3 separate regions of the Homo sapiens genome follow, and regions 2 and 3 are each linked to region 1. The links are contacts of gene promoters, found by promoter capture Hi-C in human tissues and cell types (Jung and others, 2019). All regions are on one chromosome and are shown on one strand. Each heading gives the region's core, a stretch centred on a gene start or on the middle of the fragment in contact. The rest is flanking DNA. Distances are from core to core; before and after follow the strand shown. Region 1 holds the start of HELZ (helicase with zinc finger). Region 2 overlaps PITPNC1 (phosphatidylinositol transfer protein cytoplasmic 1). Region 3 overlaps PITPNC1 (phosphatidylinositol transfer protein cytoplasmic 1).

What was found. The method cuts DNA at HindIII sites, captures the fragments that hold promoters and counts their contacts. A contact is called where the count stands out against the background at its distance.
Region 2: a contact is called between a fragment that was not itself captured here and the fragment with the promoter of HELZ in region 1, in 1 of the 25 tissues and cell types used here (IMR-90 fibroblasts).
Region 3: a fragment that was not itself captured here is called in contact with the fragment with the promoter of HELZ in region 1 in 1 of the 25 tissues and cell types used here (H1 embryonic stem cells).

The regions. Positions count from the first base shown.
Region 1 is chr17:67,243,555-67,246,585 of GRCh38, forward strand. HELZ (helicase with zinc finger) reads right to left here and starts at 1,642. Exons shown (of 33, transcript NM_014877.4): 1 at 1,594-1,642; 2 at 230-285. It overlaps HELZ-AS1 (HELZ antisense RNA 1), which reads left to right and starts at 1,222. Exons shown (of 4, transcript NR_136398.1): 1 at 1,222-1,654. RefSeq lists enhancers at 866-1,853, 1,854-2,840 and silencers at 1,170-1,219, 1,320-1,809, 2,360-2,449, 2,460-2,659. The HindIII fragment of the contact is 25,130 bases long and covers 1-3,031 here.
Region 2 is chr17:67,602,686-67,605,487 of GRCh38, forward strand. The region is part of intron 5 of PITPNC1 (phosphatidylinositol transfer protein cytoplasmic 1); the gene reads left to right. Among named protein-coding and RNA genes, the nearest start is that of NOL11, 110 kb to the right of the region's middle. RefSeq lists an enhancer at 196-705. The HindIII fragment of the contact is 5,937 bases long and covers 1-2,802 here.
Region 3 is chr17:67,642,895-67,645,594 of GRCh38, forward strand. The region is part of intron 6 of PITPNC1 (phosphatidylinositol transfer protein cytoplasmic 1); the gene reads left to right. Among named protein-coding and RNA genes, the nearest start is that of NOL11, 74 kb to the right of the region's middle. The HindIII fragment of the contact is 6,354 bases long and covers 1-2,700 here.

The DNA.
Region 1 (3,031 bases), core at 392-2,891:
TCTTAGTTAAGTACCACTATGTTTGAGTATGTTGGAGCAACTGAAAAGATTGGTACATTCAACATATTTTTCCTTTCTAAATCTAGCCCTGCCCATAGACCCACTGACTGAGTGATACATTTGGAAAACAAAGATGGCCCCATCAAATTACTCAGTTTCAGCCTTACTCTTACCAGTTGATTAAAATAAAGAAGGAAAAAAAGGAAATCATTTTTAACTGCAGTCTCACCTTACACATCTCACCAGCACTGTAGTTCATTAGTGATCCATTACTTCATCCAAATCCTGAGGCAAATAGAAAAGATGTTTCCATACAACACCAGTAACAGACATTATCAGTAGCAAACATTTTATCAGCCTGAAGTGAAAGGGCATCTACATTTAAAATGGAAAAAGTTACAAAAATGGTACAGTGTGCAGCTTTGCAAATGAGTCTGGTTTTTGACCTTAAAACATTTCCTTTCAGTAAGGTAAAAGAATAGATTATACAATGCTCTTAAAACTCAAAAACATAATAAAATCATCTTTTTCAACACAGACTGACCTTACTTTCAAAAACATAAAGAAATGAAGGAGAGGAAATTTCATTAATATGAGTTTAAGAGAGAGCAAAATTAAGAACAAACTAGGCAAGACAGACAACTCCTCCCTCCTTCCCCCGCTCCAGGAATCCACTGTCTCTGAAGTTACACTTTTTATTATATTAATGATTTGCCTGAGAAGTGTTAAGTTGTGAGGGAGAAGGAATGACAATTTTTGAACTGCAAACAAAACCTGAGGATCCCGATCCAAGAACAATCAGAGGACCCTGGCTTCCAGCCCTGTCTGAAGATTTCTCAGCAAAGGCGAGGGTGCAGAAGGCTCCAATAATTTAGGGGAGAGGAATCGAAGTTCCCTAGGTAAGACTGCAGTCTGTGAGCCCTTGAAAAGGGTACTGGAGTACTCTCAAGGAATCTCCAGGAAAAGAGAGCCTATCTTTATTTTTGTTGATGTGCTTGTGGGCCAAAGAGCATTTCCGAGGAGGGGGCGGGGAAAGGGGGGAAGAAAGTGAATCTCGGGCCGAGAGCCCTCCGCGGGGGAGGGAGGGGGCGCACGCCTGACCCACTTTTCCCCACGCCCCCGCTCCAGCCCCCACCCCACCCGGTGGAAGTCCGAGGCCTGAGGGGGGGCATCGAGCGGGGCGTGGGAGGCCCGCACGCTCCCCACCCCCAGCCGCGACCCGGAGGAGGGGAACGTGCCGGGAGGCTCGAGTCCCCCTCCCAGAGTGCTCTGGGCCGGAGAAACCTCCCGCAGGCTCCCGGGCCAGGCGTGCAAGGCCCCCTCTCCTGCCAGGGCCCAGGACGCTGCGGGCCCCAGCGGAGGGGAAGGGGACTAAGTAGGGGAAGAAGCTGTAAACAGCCCCAGCGTCCGGGCCTCGCCTCGAAGAGCCGCGCTTCCCAGGCCCAGCCGCGGGCCGCCCAGGCCCCCAGCCTGCCCCGGGGCCGCCGCGCCCGGGGTCCGGGACACCGGAGGGGAGTCGGGTCCCCTCCCCGGAGAGCTCCGGGAGCTCGCGGAGCGGCCCCAGGAGCAGAGAAGGGGGAAGTCAGGACTTACCTGTCATTACTTTCTACGCCATCTTGGATCCACTTGTCAACGTCCCCACAAAGCATTATGGGTAAGAAAGAGCCTTTAAAGTGACTCCCCCCGGCCCCCGACTCCCGCCTCCCGCCGCCGGCGCCGCCCCCTCCGGCCGCGCCTCCCGCCCGGAAAGTTGCCCCGGGTGGACTGCCGACCCCGGCGCCCGCAGCTGGCCCCTTCCCCTCCCCCGGGCTGACGGCATTGAAAATTCACCCGCATTTTTAAAACGTGGCTTTGGGGTTTTCTCCCTTTCTCCTGCCCCGGCCTCCCTGCCCCCACGCCCGGTCCTCTCGCCTCGCCGCGTTCCTGCCCGGGCAGACGCCCCGCGTCTGCATTGAATCAACCCGAGGTTTCCTTGCCGCCCGCGGCGCGGCGCGGAGCTGCTCGCGGATTTATTTGTGCGCGTGGATGTGAGCGTTTCTGCTCCTGCGGCCGCGCTTCCAGGAAGCCCGCGAGCGGCCGGGGTCGCCTTCAGAGGCCGCGCAGACCAGCTCCGCACCCGCCGCCCGGAGAGGTGCCTCTGCCCTGGGAAACCGCCCCGGGGCCGTTGGGCTCCGGGAACTGGGAGGACGCCGTGTCCCCGAGTCCACCAGCGTCGAAGCACGATTTAAAAAAAAAAATTGAGCCAAATGCAACTTTTTACCCCTTGTTTACTCTGTGTCCCGCGGTCTCCTCCTCCGGGCGGGTAACGTGATCCGCGACCCTCTAGGTGGGGACCCCTCCCCTAGGAATGTGGCTCCAGGCTCCGCGGAGCCACCCTGGGAGCGTCCGGGCTGCGGACTGTGACTCCGGGGCAGGTAATCCGGGGCGCCGGCTGCGGGCTCCGGGCGGGGCGGGGCGCGGAGGCAGCCAGGGCTCGGGGGAGGGTCCCGGGCGGAAAGCAGGGTGCGCCAGTCCGGGTCCACCTGGCGGGTCGGGGGAGAACCGCGGGCGCCGCTGCAGCTCGGGAGGCTGGAGGTGGGGACGCCCGGCGTCTCCGGGCTGCGACCCGCTGCGCTGGAAAGTGTGGGGCGCCTTGGCGCGGGCTGAGGTCTCTGACCCGGGCGAGTACCCCCAGCCCGCCGGCCACACTGCTGCCGGGCATCCTCTCCCCGCGACACCACGCCCGCTTTCGGCTGCGCGGGGCGAGCAGCGTACTGACCCCGGCGTCCAGCCGCCCAGGTCCCCCCAGCAACGGAGGCCCCTTGGTCAGCCTCCTCCCGCGCTCTCCGCAGAGCCTCTGGTCCCTGCTTTGCTGTCTTTGGAGGCCTGCTCCAGTTGCTTTTTTTTTTTTCCAAGCAAGTTTTTACAACAAGGAGATACCCAAAAGAAAATTCTCCAAGACAGGAATGCTTGCGAATTGTATTCGGTACAAAATGCTGTTGAACGGCTCTACCTTTAGAAGACCGCAGAAGCACTGGCATTAAAACCCTCT
Region 2 (2,802 bases), core at 208-2,707, 360 kb after region 1:
GGGCCCTGGAAAAGTGCCACTCATTCTACAAGTGACCACTAACCTTGGGAATTTTTTTTTGGTGGTTGGGGGGATGGATCTTGCTCTGTCGCCCAGGTTAGAGTGCAGTGGTACAACCTTGGTTCACTGCAACCTCGACCTCCTGGACTCAGGTGATCCTCCTACCTCAGTCTCCCAAGTAGCTGGAACTACAGGTGCATACCACCATGCCCAGCTAATTTTGATATTTTTTTTTTGTAGAGATGGGGTTTTGCCATGTTTCCCAGGCTGGTCTCCAACTCCTGGGCTCAAGTGATCCTCTTGCCTCACCCTCCCGTAGTGCTGGGATTACAAGCATGAGCTACCACACCAGGCCCCTGGGTCACCTCTTACACCAGAGCCAGTGGGTTCATTTGATCAATCTGAGCAGTACTCACAGGATTCAATTGTCTTCTCACACCTTTTCCCCAGGTTTCAAAGTCAGAGCCACTTGCTGACTTGAGTGATTATGGCAGGGCCCCATCTAATGGCCTTTTTGCAAAGTACAGCTGGAGCAAGCAGGCTCGCCTGTGCCCCTTTTCTCATCAAAAGCAAGGCAAAGAGGGTATAGATTAGACTAGCAGGCCCCGGCTAGGAAGTAACATCTTCAAGAGTAAGAAGTAATCATGATGGCAGCCATGTGGATATTGACTCATAATAATGGTGATGGTCAGACGGATATTGGCAGGAATATTTACATGAGCCCAGCATCTTGCCAACCTGTCTTTAGATAGCCACAGTCTCATGAAATCTTCACAGATATTAATATCCCCATTTTACAACTGACACTGAGGCTTAGTGAGAGCCAGCGGTCTGCACAGCCTCACAGCTAGCAAGTGTCAGATCTAGGACTCAATTCTAGGTTAGTTTAGCCTTGGAGCACGTGCTCTCATGTAACTAATCTGCTGTCTTTGGCTCTAAAAATGAAATAAGACTGTAGGTAGAGCCAGGCGCGGTGGCTCACACCTGTAATCCCAACACTTTGGGAGGCTGAGGCGGACGAATCATTTGAGGTCAGGAGTTTGAGACCAGCCTGGCCAACAAGGTGAAACCCTGTCTCTACTAAAAATACAAAAATTAGCTGGGCTTGGTGGTGCATGCTTGTAATCCCAGCTGCTTGGGAGGCTGAGGCAGGAGAATCACTTGAACCAGGGAGGCAGAGGCTGCAGTAAGCCAAGATCCAAGATGGTGCCACTGCTCCAACCTGGGCAACAGAACGAGACTCTGTCTCATAGATTTAAAAAAAAAAAAAAAACTGTACATGGAGTCAGCTGCTCTAAAGTCTGGTTGAAAGTTTAAATTTTCACAGTGAGGAAAGGGAAATAAGTCACTCCCATCTTAAAGAAGCATTGTCAAAGGAATATTTTTCTCCTTCCAAGTTTTACAGGGAGGCAAATATTCTGAAAGGAATTATCGTGGTAATAACATCCCTTACCTGATTTTTTTCAAAAACTTTTATTACTAGGAATTTTCTCAGATGTAATGCCATATAATGGGTGTTTATCAACTGGAATAGTGAGGGAAAATGGCTTTCCAGCCATGTGTCTAGTTTTTACACATCTTCAGACATGGATGGAAGGCAGAGCTGGGTTGCCTCAATTCTGGGTCAAGTCAGCTTCCCCTGGATTAGAAGGGGAGGCTGGTAGGCTAATAGCAGGATGCTGGTGACATATGAAGGAGGGGTTGTTTCTTATGAAAGCAGATTCTCAGAGAAAGAGGATCTGCGTAGGAACACCAGAGAGATTGGCCTCAAAGACCCAAAAGCAAAAGAAATAAGTTAAAAATAAAACAGTCCTAGGCCAGGCACGGTCACTCACGCCTGTAATCCCAACACTTTGGGAGGCCCAGGCGGGTGGATAGCTTGAGGTCAGGAGTTCGAGACCAGCCTTGCCAACATGGTGAAACCCCATTTTTACTGAAAATACAAAAATTAGCCAGGCGTGAAAGCATGTACCTGTAGTCCCAGCTACTTGGGAAGCTGAGGCACAAGAATCACTTGAACCCAGGAGGCGGAGGTTGCAGTGTGCTGAGAACTTGCCACTGCACTCCAGCCTGGACAACAGAGTGAGACTCCCTCTCCAAAAAAAATTAAAATATGACTGGGCATGGCTCACATCTGTAATCCCAGCACTTTGGGAGGCTGAGGCGGACGGATCACCTGAGGCCAGGAGTTTGAGACCAGCCTGGCCAACATCATGAAGCCCCATCTCTACTAAAAATAAAAAATTAGCTGGGTGCGTTGGGATGCGCCTGTAGTCCCAGTTACTCAGGAGGCTGAGGCAGGAGAATCGTTTGAAACCGGGAAGCAGAGGTTGCAGTGAGCCGAAATCGCGCCATTGCACTCCAGCCAGGGCAACAGGGTGAGATTCTGTCTCAAAATAAAATAAAATAAAACAAAACAATAAAATAAAATAAAACAAGGCTAATGATAAACCCAGGGGCTCCTTGGCAGGAGCAAAGCTGAACCGAGAGCTCTATTCCTAGAGCCCTATGTCTGAATAATTTATTTTTCCTATCTCATAGTCCCTATGTGCCTTCCTCAGCTGAGATCAAGTGCCAAAGGACATCTCAAAATACCCACAGCCAAAACTTCTCAGCATAGCTCCCTGCATGGAGAAGGAGACAGCTCTGCAAGTCTTTGTCCTGAACCGTTTACGGATTTTCCATGGTCTGCAAGACCTTGGACTCACGCCGCCTGCCAGCTGGCAGCCGCTGTCCAGCCTGGGAACAGAGCTTGCTCCGGCCTGTGGCGAGTCCTCCCGGGGCTTATCGTGAATTTCCCCG
Region 3 (2,700 bases), core at 64-2,563, 400 kb after region 1:
TTGGCATGAATGATGTTCCCCAGAACTCAGTGTTCAGAGCAGCAGTTGCAAATCCTACCAATTGAATTTGGTAGTGAAATGCCAGACCAAGTAGGTCAAACAAAATCAAGGCATATGAATTCCTAAATGCCAGATCAAAAGCAGAGAATCTAAGTCTCTGCCAGGAGTGCAGTTGCTGATTGTGGCATTGTGGGTCATTGAATCAATAGAAAGAGCCCTTGGGGGCCAGGTGCAGTGGCTCACGCCTGTAATCCCAGCACTTTGGGACGCCAAGGCAGGCAGATCACTTGAGGTCAGGAGTTCGAGACCATGGCAAAACCCTGTCTACTAAAAATACGAAAATTAGCTGGGCATGGCGGCACGCACCTGTAGTCCTAGGTACTAGGGAGGCTGAGGCACGAGAATTGCTTGAATCCGGGAGGCGGAGGTGGCAGTGAGCTGAGATCGCGCCACTGCACTCCAGCCTGGACAACAGAGTGAGACTTTGTCTCAAAAAAGAAAGAAAGAAAGAACCCTTGGGGAAATCACCCTATCACCCTATATCCCAAAAGGAACAGACCAGGGAGGGAAGAATTCATCCAAGCAAAACATTCATGGAAGGGAGAAACAGTTGGGCTTTTCATAGAGGGATCTGTGCAAAAGATAACCCCTAGAACCTATGAATTGGGATTCCCAACTTGTGTGCTCTGTGTCTAGATGATTCAGCCCTAATGTGGTGAGGGCCCTGGCTCTGGGAGCCTCCCAGGCGGTCACAGCCACTGCATTTGATCATCATCAATTCTGTGTCTGAGTCCCTCCCTCCCTTCCAAAGAATGGACAGATGGACAGATGGGATGGAGAAGTGAGATGACGTCAAAGGCAAGGCATGGAAAGTGACCAGCACAGTCCCTGGCACACAGTAAGCATTTCATAAGTGTTCCCTTCTCTCTGCTTTGACCCTGGCTTCGAGCTCTGCAGATGGGTTGCAGGAATGGTGGCTCCGTGGAAACCATGTGTCTTTGGAAAGTGGCCACCGTGAGTGGCGTCACAGGAGTTTGTTTGCGTGTCGCTTTTCCCTTGTCGGTGTGAGTGGAGAACAGGAGCAGAGGTGTGATACCAATAGCTCCAGCTCTCAGGATCATGGGATCCTCCGCCGGCTCAGCAAGATCCTGCAGAAGTTACAGCCATTTGTGCTGCTGAGACTTTTCAAAAAAAATGTGTTATTGCCTCTGTTATGGTTTAACCTGAATTCCGGATGGCACGTGTCTCTGCTACTTCACCTCGAAGAAACCTTAGAAGTTACATTTGCTGTTTGTTTTGTGCCAAGTCTGGGCCATCTGTGGCACTGCAGTGCCGGGATGGTACCCAAGGCAGTATTGCCATGCTATCTCTGTCTGCCACGAGCCTTCTTACAGCTGTACTATAGAAAACTAACATTTAAGACTTTCAAAGAAGGAAGCAAGAGCTGAAGGGCCCAAGGCTCTCAGCCAGGAGTGAACAGATACAACAAGCTCTTCTTCAGTTCCATCTCATGGAGAACTTCCCTCTGTAATTTTTTTTTTTTTTTTTTTTTTTTTTTGAGACAGAGTCTCACTCTGTCACCCAGGCTGGAGGGCAGTGTCACAATTTCAGCTCACTGCAACCTCTGCCTCCTGGGTTCAAGCGATTCTCCTGCCTCAGCCTCCTGAGTAGCTGGGACTACAGGTGCACGCCACCACGCCCAGCTAATTTTTGTATTTTTAGTAGAGACAGGGTTTCACCACGTTGGTCAGGCTGCTCTCGAACTCCTGACTTCAGGTGATCCACTCGCCAAAGTGCTGGGATTACAGGCGTGAGCCAATGCACCTGGCCCTGCTCTGTTCTTTCAAGAAAACAGGCAATGAGTCCACACAAGTTGCTCATAACTGGGGCCAGCCACATCAGCCCCTGCTGTTTTTAGTCTTATTAAAGTAAAACACCAGAACTTCTTGGCCCTTAGAACAGAGTTCCCAAATCAGGTCAGCATCACCCAGGGAGGTTTTGAAAACTGGAGATATCCGGGTCCCACCTTAGACCAACCCAACCAGACTCAACTGGTCTGGGACCCAAGAATCAGTGTGTAAATGCACCAGGTTTGGGAAAATGGCCTCAGAGCAGAGCTTCCCATCTTTTTTCATGCCTTGACAGGTAGGAAGTGTTTCGTTTTGGCCAGGCGCGGTGGCTCATGCCTGTAATCCCAGCACTTTGGGAGGCCGAGGCAGGCGGATCACCTGAGGTCGGGAGTTTGAGACCAGCCTGACCAACACGGAGAAACCGCATCTCTACTAAAAATACAAAAATCAGCCAGGCATGGTGGCGGGCACCTATAATCCCAGCTACTCGGGAGCCTGAGGCAGGAGAATCACTTGAACCCTGAAGGCGGAGGTTGCGGTGAGCCAAGATCGCGCCATTGCATTCCAGCCTGGGCAACAAGAGCGAAACTCCATCTCAGAAAAAAAAAAAAAAAAAAAGAGAAAGTGATTTGTTTTGATTGACACATTGAGGAGGAGCTCCTGGTTAAGATGACCAACCCCTGAGCTCAGAAGGCCCAGTCTGTTACTCAAGGGCTGCGGGAGCAATATGCCTTATCACATCTACTATCCATTCACCATAGGGAAGCTTTGCCTAAGAGAGCTCAACTTACTGAGGTCAAGGTTTTAAACCACTTTATTGTTACTTAATTTGGGGGAGGAGGGATGCAGG